3 separate regions of the Homo sapiens genome follow, and all the other regions are linked to region 3. Evidence: promoter capture Hi-C in 16 types of primary human blood cells and fetal thymus (Javierre and others, 2016). All regions are on one chromosome and are shown on one strand. The core of a region is centred on a gene start or on the middle of the fragment in contact, and the rest is flanking DNA. Distances in the headings are between cores, read along the strand shown.

Evidence for each region. Contacts are between HindIII fragments. The CHiCAGO score rates a contact against its expected background, and 5 or more counts as called.
Region 1: a contact is called between the fragment with the promoter of CIDEC here and the fragment with the promoter of TADA3 in region 3, in 6 of 17 cell types (total CD8 T cells, erythroblasts, monocytes and 3 more). The highest score is 6.1, in total CD8 T cells.
Region 2: a fragment that was not itself captured here is called in contact with the fragment with the promoter of TADA3 in region 3 in 1 of 17 cell types (neutrophils); the score reaches 6.3 in neutrophils.

The regions. Positions count from the first base shown.
Region 1 is chr3:9,878,851-9,882,248 of GRCh38, forward strand. It overlaps CIDEC (cell death inducing DFFA like effector c), which reads right to left and starts at 1,403. Exons shown (of 7, transcript NM_001321142.2): 1 at 1,374-1,403; 2 at 92-204. The HindIII fragment of the contact is 5,760 bases long and covers 1-1,560 here.
Region 2 is chr3:9,679,030-9,682,425 of GRCh38, forward strand. The region is part of intron 9 of MTMR14 (myotubularin related protein 14); the gene reads left to right. Among named protein-coding and RNA genes, the nearest start is that of CPNE9, 23 kb to the right of the region's middle. The HindIII fragment of the contact is 4,297 bases long and covers 1-3,396 here.
Region 3 is chr3:9,791,127-9,794,504 of GRCh38, forward strand. It overlaps TADA3 (transcriptional adaptor 3), which reads right to left and starts at 1,347. Exons shown (of 9, transcript NM_006354.5): 1 at 1,090-1,347; 2 at 134-367. The coding sequence starts at 340. ARPC4-TTLL3 (ARPC4-TTLL3 readthrough) reads left to right here and starts at 1,422. Exons shown (of 12, transcript NM_001198793.1): 1 at 1,422-1,998. The coding sequence starts at 1,996. ARPC4 (actin related protein 2/3 complex subunit 4) reads left to right here and starts at 1,956. Exons shown (of 6, transcript NM_005718.5): 1 at 1,956-1,998. The coding sequence starts at 1,996. RefSeq lists enhancers at 1-174, 1,279-1,805, 1,732-1,831, 1,806-2,332, 2,532-2,621 and silencers at 1,162-1,251, 1,312-1,601. The HindIII fragment of the contact is 10,858 bases long and covers 1-3,378 here.

The DNA of each region.
Region 1 (3,398 bases), core at 153-2,652, 88 kb after region 3:
CGATTTGTTCCTGTCCATGGGGACAGAGTCCACTTTACGCTGGCAGGAGGTGAGTCACACCACCTCACACTTCTGGGGACCGTTCCCTCACCTCTAGTCCAGAGACCTCACAGGCAGGCAGCCCAGTCAAAGCCTCCTCTCTCCCATGGGTCCTTGAGCAATCCGAGCCCCTTCCTGAGGCTTCACAGTGGCCAAAAGAACATTCTGTGATGATAGAGGCATGCCTTGTACATACTCTCCAATACCATTGCTACTAGCCCCATGTGGCTATTGAGTATTTGAAACATAACTAGTGTGATTCAGGAGCTGAATTTTTTTTTTTTTTGAGTTTCGCTCTTGTCACCCAGGCTGGAGTGCAATGGGGCGATCTTGCTCACTACAACCTCCGCCTCCTGGGTTCAAGCAATTATCCTGCCTCAGCCTCCCCCGTAGCTGGGATTACAGGCACCTGCCACCACGCCCAGCTAATTTTTAGTTTAGTTTCGTTTTGTTTGGATTTTTAGTAGAGACTGGGTTTCACCATGTTGGCTAGGCTGGTCTTGAACTCCTGACCTCAGGTGATCTCCCTGTCTTGGCCTCCCAAAGTGCGGGGATTACAGGCGTGAGCCACTGCACCTGGCACAGGAGCTGTATTTTTTACTTTATTGAATTTTAACTAATTTAAATTTAAATAGCCACATTGCCATGTGGCTGTTGGCACCCATATTAGATCACAGGTCTAAGCAGATAGCCCTGGGCTCATCTGTCACCACTTTTTCTCCTAAACCTCTGTGCTCCAACTCTTGAAGGGCCCAACCCTTTGCACAGATAGTTCCCTCCACCTGTAGTGCCCTTCTCTGATCCAGGACGAAATTTTTGCAGCCTTGAAGCCTCAGTTTCATTGCTTTCCACTCTTTAAAAGGAAAGTCTTCTTAGACCACTCCCAAAATTATTACACCTTCATCCTGCTCTTCCTAGCCAAGGGTGCCTCTGGGTCTGTTTCTGCTGTAGCCCCTCAGTCCCTGGATGCCTGGCCCTGAGGTCCTCTTCCTATTCGAAGCTCCCGGCACAGGTAGGGCTTCGCAGAGCAAGGGGCACAAGGGGTGGACATAAAACAAAAGTCCCCTTGCCAGCTGGGGACAATCACTCTTTGCTTTTAACAATTTGGGGGACTTTCCAGACCAGGCCCCACAGAGGCAGAAAGCCCCTTTCCCACTTAGCACTGCAGAAGCTCTAGTCCTAGCTACGTGGGAGGCTGAGGCAGGAGGATTCTGCTTGCCTCAGCCTCACCCACTTCGTATCCCTAGCAAAACTCTGCCAAGAGCTACCTAACCTGCTCTCCAGGAGCAAAGAAAAAAAAATCCCCAAACCCAAAACAATAACAAACTCCTTACCTCCCCCTCACAGCCTCCTGGAAATACTGCCCTGTCCCGCCCAGCCCTCCCTTCATTTATTTCCAGCCCCCATGAAGCTCCTCCCCAGCCTTCAGCCCCAGCTGGGGAAAAGAGCTTGGGGTGAGAGCTGCAAGCCAGCCTGACTTCCAGAAAAGGCCTAAAAGGAGGGGAGAAGGCATGTTTCGAAAGCTTTGGCAAAATGGATGGCCCATGACATGAGATCAAGCACAGAGGGCACAGAAAGCAGGCAGATGTGGGTTGTGGTCCCAACTCCACCCCATATCAGCTTGCTTGAGCTTAGACAGATCACTTGACTTCTGTGAGCCCGTTTCTCTTCTCTGTGTAATGACGATAATGATTCTTGTTTTATAGGGTAGTGGTGAGGATTAGTGACAATAAAAGTAAAGGGGCACAGTGGCTCATGCCTATAATCCCAGTGTTTTGGGAGGCTGAGGCGGGAGGATTGCTTGAGGACAGGGGTTGGAGGACAGCCTGGGCAATAGAGTGAGACCCTGTCTCTGAAAAAAAAAAAAAAAAAGAAAAGAAAAGAAAAAAGAAAAAAGTAGCCTGGGTGCCGTGGCTCACGCCTGTAATCCCAGCACTTTGGGAGGCCGAGGCAGGTGGATCACTTGAGGTCAGGAGTTTGAGACCAGCATGGCCAACATGGTGAAGCCCCGTCTCTACTAAAAATAGAAAAATGAGCCAGGCGTGGTGGTGTGTGCCTGTAATCCCAGCTATCTGGGAGGCTGAGGCAGGAGAATCGCTTGAGCCTGGGAGGCAGAGGTTGCGGTGAGCTTAGATCACACCACTGCACTCCATTCTGGGTGACAGAGTGAGACCCTGTCTCAAAAAAAAAAAAAAAAAAAAAAAAGTCCGGGCACGGTGGCTCACACCTCTAATCCCAGAACTTTGGGAGGCCGAGGTGGGCAGATCACAAGGTCAAGAGTTCGAGACCAGCTTGGTCAATATGGCGAAAACCCCATCTCTACTAAATATACAAAAATTAGCCGTGCGTGGTGGTGGGTGCCTGAAATCCCAGCTACTCAGGAGGCTGAGGCAGGAGAATCATTTGAACCCGGGAGGCAGAGGTTGCAGTGAGCCGAGATCACGCCACTGCACTCCAGCCTGGGTGACAGAGTGAGACTCTGTCTCAAAAAAATAAAAATAAATAAAAATAAAGGCTTTGCAAACATAAACACTCAATGGATCGAAGTGATTATTAGTATTACTGATAATTTTTTATTTTTATTTTATTATTTTTAATTTTTTTGTCTTTTTCTCAATTTGATAATGTACATATTAAATCATAGCAGAGAGTAAGACAAGCTGAAATGTGGAGTGGTTAAGAGTGTAAGATCTCTGACCCAGCAGTTCCACTTCTGTGTGTGTGCGTGTGGTGTATGTGTGTCATACAGAGCACACCTGTTGTCCCAGCTGCTCAGAAGGAGGCTGATGCAGGAGGATCACTTGAGCCCAGGAATTAAAATTTAGCCTGAGTAACATAGGGAGACCCTGTCTTTACAAAAGAAAAGAAACAAAACCAAAACCAAACAAAATTACATATATATGTGTATATATATACACACACACATATATATATACACATACATATCCAAAAGAAATGAAAAATATGTCTACACAAAAACTTGTATGTGAATATCCATAGGATTATTCGTAATAGCCAAAAGGTAGAAACACATGAATGTTCAATTTATAAATCGATTTTTTAAATGTGCCTATCCATACATGGCATATTATTTATCAAAAAGGATCCATACTACCACATGGAGGAACCTTGCAAACAGTACAGAAAGTAGACAAAGCCAGTCACAGGAATCATATACATATTGTATGATTCCACTTATATGAAATGTCTAGAATAGGCAAATCTATATAAAGACAAAGTAGGGCCGGGCGCGGTGGCTCACGCCTGTAATCTCAGCACTTTGGGAGGCTGAGGTGGGCGGATCACGAGGTCAGAAGATCGAGACCATCCTGGCTAACACGGTGAAACCCGGTCTCTAC
Region 2 (3,396 bases), core at 134-2,633, 110 kb before region 3:
AGGCTGACCCATCTATGTTAAGCAACTGGGTGCTCCTAGATCACCAATGTCAGTACCCTGTTGTCCTGATAGCAGCAAGGTCCATCTTGTTTTCTCTATATATATCCAGACCCTAATCACAAGGTTTATGCTCACAGCAACTGTTTGAGTGTATGAAGTAGGGTGATGTCAGAGTTCCCCAATGCAGGTGTTTGCAAGAGAGGGAGCACTGGGGAGGAAAGCAGACCAGTTGTTTGTTATGGTCTGGAAGCCTGGAGAAGGAACAGGTTTGGGGTACCTGTGCTGTGGTCTCATGTCCCAGGCTGTGCCTAGACAGACTGAGTAGATAAAAGAACCGGCAGGCTTCCTTCTTTATGTGCTGCATGCAGAGGTCAAGTAGACTCTGCCCCAAGCCACCCTCTTTCTGGTCCCTTCCGGCACCATTTTTTCTCCTTATGCAGGTACAAACTGGATCTGATGAACTACTCAGCAAATGAGATGTGACAGTTCCAGGCACTGGTCCCAAGGATGTTTGCCTCTTTAGGAAGGGGTCCTGTGCGTGTGAGGAGGTACTCTGCTTAGTAGATGCAGGCCCTAGATCTAGGTCCCAGCTTGCCTGGCCCTTCCTGCAAGGCTCTGTGGCCTTGAACAGATGACCTCACTTCCCCCTGAAAATGGTGTTGGCAGTACCTATTTCAGAGTTGTGCCAGGCTCAAATATGATCACTGCTTGAAAGGGACTCCTGAACTGAAATACCAGACAGATTGTAATGATAATTATGAAGAGGCTGCTAGCTAGCTAATTCAGGGAAGTGAACACTGAAACTTCCAGGCGTGAAGGCAGCAGGGCTGGAGTGTAGCAGGCAGGCAGGCGCCTCCCAAGAGGCCACCTCTTCAGTGTTGCTCAACCTGTTTTGTCTCACTGGGGCTCCTAGCATGCTCTTCCTTGGCTGGGTGTGGGCTCTGCCTTTTCTGCCCGCAAAGCCCTGGGGTGCCGGTACCCTGTTCCTTTTCACCATCTCCCCAGGTGATCTCATCCATCGTCCACACCATGAGCCCACAGCCAGGCCTCTCTGATCCATACCTGCATCACCTTTCACACATGTCCCTTCAGGCGGCCCCTCAGACTCAAGCTGTCCAGAGTAGAGTTGGCCATGGCCCACCATTTACCCAGATGCTCACACCTGAAACTCGAGTTCTTTGCTCCCACCACATCCATCACCAGCTCCCATCGGTTCTCTAGTCTCTGCCCCTAGTGCAACTGCAATCCTTCTTGCCCTCGTCTCCTGTGCAGTGCCTAGCTCAGGCCACCACTGTCTCAGTGCATCTCACAGCTGAACCTGGGGCCTCACTGAGGAGTAACTAGAAATGAAGTGCTCAGATAGCAAGCACTGAAATGATAGAGCAGGGCCATCACTGTCACCCCTGCCTTAAAACCTACCACTGACTTCCCATTTTCCTCAGAATACAATGCAAGAACTTGTACATGGCCTACCCAGCTCCATGCAGTCTGGTCTTGCCTGTTCTTGTGACCAGCTGATCTTCCTGCAGCCCATGGCCGGGCACGGTGGCTCATGCCTGTAATCCCAGCACTTTAGGAGGCCAAGGCGGGCAGATCACGAGGGCAGGAGATCGAGACCATCGTGGCTAACACAGTGAAACCCAATCTCTACTAAAAAATTAGCCGGGCGTGGTGGCGGGCGCCTGTAGTGCCAGCTACTCGGGAGACTGAGGCAGGAGAATGGCGTGAACCCGGGAGGCGGAGCTTGCGGTGAGCTGAGATCGCGCCACTACACTCCAGCCTGGGCGACAGAGCGAGACTCCGTCTCAAAAAAACAAACAAACAAACAAACAAAAGAAGGCAGCCCTCTCCAGGTTCGCACGTGCTGTTTTCTCTGCCAGAAACACGTGTCTCCTTTCTCTGTTGCTTATGCTGTCTCATGTCATCACCTCTGAGAAGCCTTCTCTGATGTCCCTACAGATCAGGCTTGGCTCTCCAGTCATATGGTTACACAGCATCCTAGAGGTCCCCTTTTAGTTGCACACCTGCAGTGGTTAACTTTGTCTTCCCTCTCCCGTGACTCCATGATTGTTGAGGTCATATTCACCCTTGTGTGCCTGGTGCCAGGCCCTTCAGGAGGCATGCAGTGTGAGGCTTACTGAATGAATGAATGAGTGAATGAATGAATGATAGGAGCAGTTGTGGCAGGACACATGTGTCTTGCTGCCCTCCATGTAACCGAATTGAATTCCGTAGAGGTATGCCCCTTCTTTCTGTGTCCTAAGACCCCTCCCTGGGGCTGCTGTCCCTCAGGCACTCAGCATTGCCCCAGCTATGAAGAAGCAGCAAGGAACATTCTGCAATGACCTCCTAGTCCCTGAACACTAAGCCTTAGAGATGCCAAAACAGCCTCTGCCCTCATGGGGATTAGACTAGGAAAAGAGGCAACAACGTAACCATCACCTACATTACAGTTTTTACCAGTGGTCACAGAAACCCCAAAGAGAAGATAATTGGTCTGGGCCTTTGAAGGATGAGTAGGAGTTTACCAACCAGCAGAAAGAGTACTCTAGGCATAGAAACATAAGCAGAGGCATGGCATTTAGCTCAGCTCCCAGAGACTTTTTCATGAAGCACGTAGGATGAGAGAGTCAGGCACGAGCCTTGTTTGTTTGTTTGTTTGTTTGTTTTTTAGCATATCTCCTCGGTCATCACTTTGAGCAGTTCCCTCAGACTTCTGCTTCTTACTCTGGTGTTATAGGAAGAGTACCTACAGTGATTAAGAATGTGGACTTTGGAGTCTGGCAGGGCTGGATTTATCCCTCAGCTCAGCCGTGTGACCTTGGCCCTCTACCAGCCCAGCCCTCCCCAGCCTGTAGTTCCTGCCCCAGCCTTGGGAACTTGCTGCCCCTCCCTGATGGTCAGCATCTCCTCCAGACAGCCGTCATGGTGGCTGGCATTCCGCAGCTCTCTTGTCCTCGGCAGGGCCTGCCCTCCCCGGCTGCTGCAGTCTTCCCCTAGCCCACCTGACGCTCACTGGGCTTGGTACAGTGCAGCTCTTACCTCCCTCTCCTGCTTTTCCTTGCCCTGTGAGAATCACTGCTCCATTGGCAATGGTGTGTCTGACACGTTGAGCCAGATGAGTTGAGAGACCCCTTGTGCAGCTACTGATAATGACTTTATTAGCACAGCACTACAGCGCCTGTCTCTGTAGTCACTAAAAGTGGGTCAGAACTCTCCAGGGGCGTGGGAGGGTCAGGTAAATGAGGCTGTTTTAAATTCCTGGGAAAGCCACTCCAATTACAGGTGCCGTGTTCCCCCTCCCCCTGGGAAGTGCTGTTTTGCTGGCATGCGTCACCCTCTCTGCACAGCCCCAGAACACTGCTAAGCAATTGTATCTTAAGAGAACAGAGACTG
Region 3 (3,378 bases), core at 97-2,596:
CCAGTTTGCGTCTCTCTCCCTCTCCCCACAAACCCCTGTACCCCAAGTCTCAGCATATGGGGCTAACTCAATGACCCATCCCATAACTTGTTGCAGTCCATCTCTGGTGCTGGCCCCTCTCTGGGGTTATCACCTGGGTTTCGGCCTCAAGCACACGCAGGCGCCGGCTGGCAGAAGACAGCAGGGTCTCCAGCTCCAGCTGCAGGGTGTCCAGCTCCTCGATGCCGATGCCATCATCCTCAGAGCGTGCCAGCACTGCCGTGTAGCGGGGACAGACCTTCAGGTGATCCACAGACTTGAAGTCGTGGAACTGCAAGGGGCAGTCTTTCAACTCACTCATGGCCCAGGATATGGGGATCCTGTGGAGCTGGAGAGGACAGGGCCATTGATGGGAGACAAAGTGGTCTGAGAAAAGCCCAAGGGCTTCTTACCTCCAGGGACAGCCTCAAGGAAGCCCAGCTTCAGTCCCTTACTGACAAAATTGATGGCACAGTTCCTACTCACAGGGCACTTAACTGGGTACCAAGCTAGGTGCAGAGCACTTTATCAGTTTATCTCACTGAATTTCTCACTCAGCACCATGAACAAGGACCATTGTGATCTCGTTTTTACAGAGAAAGAAACTGAGACTCTGTAAGGGTGGGTATGTGCCTATGCTTCCAAGATGCAATTTGAACCCCGCTAGTCTTGAGTCTGCACCCTGATCACCATGCTATACTGCTATGCCTTGCCTCGCCTTTCTGATGCTCTTTCCTTCCCTTCTATTTCTCTTGGGTTCTGCTAAGACTTTGAGTTCCAAGCACCCCATTCTTACCATGTTCTCTGGGACTCTTGGCCTCTTTTCTTACCCTATTCCACCTTTCTCCCTTCTCTAGTCACTAACAGTGGTTTAGAACGTGGGCTGGTAAGCCAGACAGACCTGGGTTCAAGCCCAGGCTTTACCATTCTCTACTTATATGCCCCTGAACATGTTATTTGACCTTTTTCAGTCTCAGTTTTTCCATCTGTAAAATGGGGACAAAAGAAGTCTCGGTCTGTTTCCCCATTAAAAGTCTGAATCTGAAAAATGGGGATAACAATAGTACCTACCTCCCTGGGATGTTCTGAGGATTAAGAGATGATGCCCGTCAAGAGCCCAGTTCAGTGTCTGGCACAGAAGTGGGACTGTTTAATGGCTGGCCCCGCCCGGGGGTCGCCCAAATGTCCCGCCTTCAGAGTCCTCGTTCTCTAGGGACACCCTAGTGCGACCCCCGCCCCCTCTACCTCCTCGCTGCGGCCTCCTACGGCCCCAGGGGCCGCGGGAGGGGGCGGGGAGTTCCGGTCGATGTGAGCAACCGCCCCGGAACTGGCTATGGGCGGGCCCCTTGCAGTTGACGCGGGGGCGGGGAGTCAGCGAGGGCGAGCCTACTGGAGTTTGCCGGGGGTGGGAAGAAGGTGGGCCTCGAGCAAAGCCGCTAGAGGTGGGGTGCGGGTGGTCGGCCTCAGGCGAGCCCCGGGGCACAGCCCGGGGCGGGAGGCGGAGCTTGGCGGCCGAGATCTCCGCGCTGCAGTTAGCCCCGCCGAGCGCCAGGAGCTGCGGGTAGGAGGGGCGAGAGAAAGGATGGGGGTACAGAACCGGAAGAAACGAAGGGCTCGTCCGCTTCGGCTTGTCCTAATTTGGTGCCCAATCTGAAGCTGGGCTGTACCATTGCATACCTGGGGGAGGCTGTGGCAAAGGTGACAAGAAGGCCGAAGGCACAAAGGGAAGCTGCACCCATTCCTGGAGGAGCTTAAATAGTGACTCGAGTGCAAGAATTTAAAAATACCGAGACAGCCCTAGGTGGAAAACTTCCGGAAGGCCCAAGCGTTCGTAAGGGCTCTCTACCCCGCTCGGAGCATAGATGGTACCGTCCGGAAGTCCGGGCGGAGACCGTAGCTGCGCTTCTCGCGAAAGGGCAGGCATCGCGGGGCTGGCCACTTCCGTACTTCCGCTTTCCGGCCCAGCCAGCGCCCGCGATGGTGAGAGAGCCGGGCCCCCGGCCAGGGACCCCCGGCTGTTCGGCCTCAGGGCAGTGGGTCGGTGGGAGATGTGGCTTTGCCGCAGGGGCGCGGGGCCGAGGGATGTCCGGGGGTTGTGGGGACACGATGAGGGTGGGAAAAAGAGACGGGGCGGGGGCCCGAGGTGAGGAAGGGGCGAGTGGGGGTACTCCCTGGTATGAAGTGGGCCTTGTGGCTTCACGGTCAGCCTTCGAAGCAGGTAGGGGCTTTTCCTGAGCCCTGTAGGAACCCGGAAGTGGGGTCTCCTAGGCTCTTTGGAGCATTTCGAGGGTACGTAGTCGGCCTCTTAGCCTCTGAGGCATGAAGCAAGTCCACCTGCCTATCCACAGTGGAACTTCACGACATACGCCCTTTGTCCTCTTCTGCCTTCCTGACCCTACAGTTGCTTAAGGCAGGCGGCCACACTTCCTTATCCCATTCTTGGTACCTCCAGCCCTGCTTCCACCCCATTGGAGGATCTCTCGTGTTGCTTCCATTCAGGCCCTTCCTGGTCAGAACTGAACTGTGTCAGCCTTAGTGTATGTTAGCTGTGATACTGCTCATCCCTCCCTTCCTGGAAGTCCTCCCTTTTTCATACATGTGGGCCTTTTTCATACATGTGGGCCTTTTTCATACGTGTGGGCATTCCTGGGAGTTGTGACTTTGGATGACCATCTCCCTCTTCGTCACACCTTCCCTGGTGATACCGATCTAGTCTCCTGGCTTCGATAACTTTCTTCATTCTGATGACTCCTAATCTGGCTTCTCAGCTCTCTTTCAAGGTTTGCCTGGATATCTTGAAGAGACCTTGAAATTAGACCTCTAGTTCAAAACTCATATTCTATTCTAAATTTGTTCTTCCTCCTGGGTTCCCTATCCTGGCAAACTTTTGTGACCTCATGTCTCTGCTAAAAATCTGTATTTTTTTTTTCTAGTGGGGCACATGCCTCTTGATTTTTAAAAGTTCAAGTTTATTGAGGTATTACATGAGACTACATCTGTTTTATTCATGAAAGGACAGGCGTCACGGAGCCAGTCACCCTTTTTAGGTTTACTTTCTATAACTGTTGACAAAGGCCAGGCGTGGTGGCTCACGCTTGTAATCCCAGCACTTTGGGAGGCAGAGGCGGGCGGATCACGACGTCAGGAGATCGAGACCATCCTGGCTAACACGGTGAAACCTCTTCTCTACTAAAAATGCAAAAAATTAGCCGGGCGTGGTGGTGGGCACCTGTAGTCCCAGCTACTCAGGAGGCTGAGGCAGGAGAATGGCGTGAACCCAGAAAGCAGAGCTTGCAGTGAGTCGAGATCGTGCCACTGCACACCAGACTGGGCAACAGAGTAAGACTCCGTCTCAAAAAA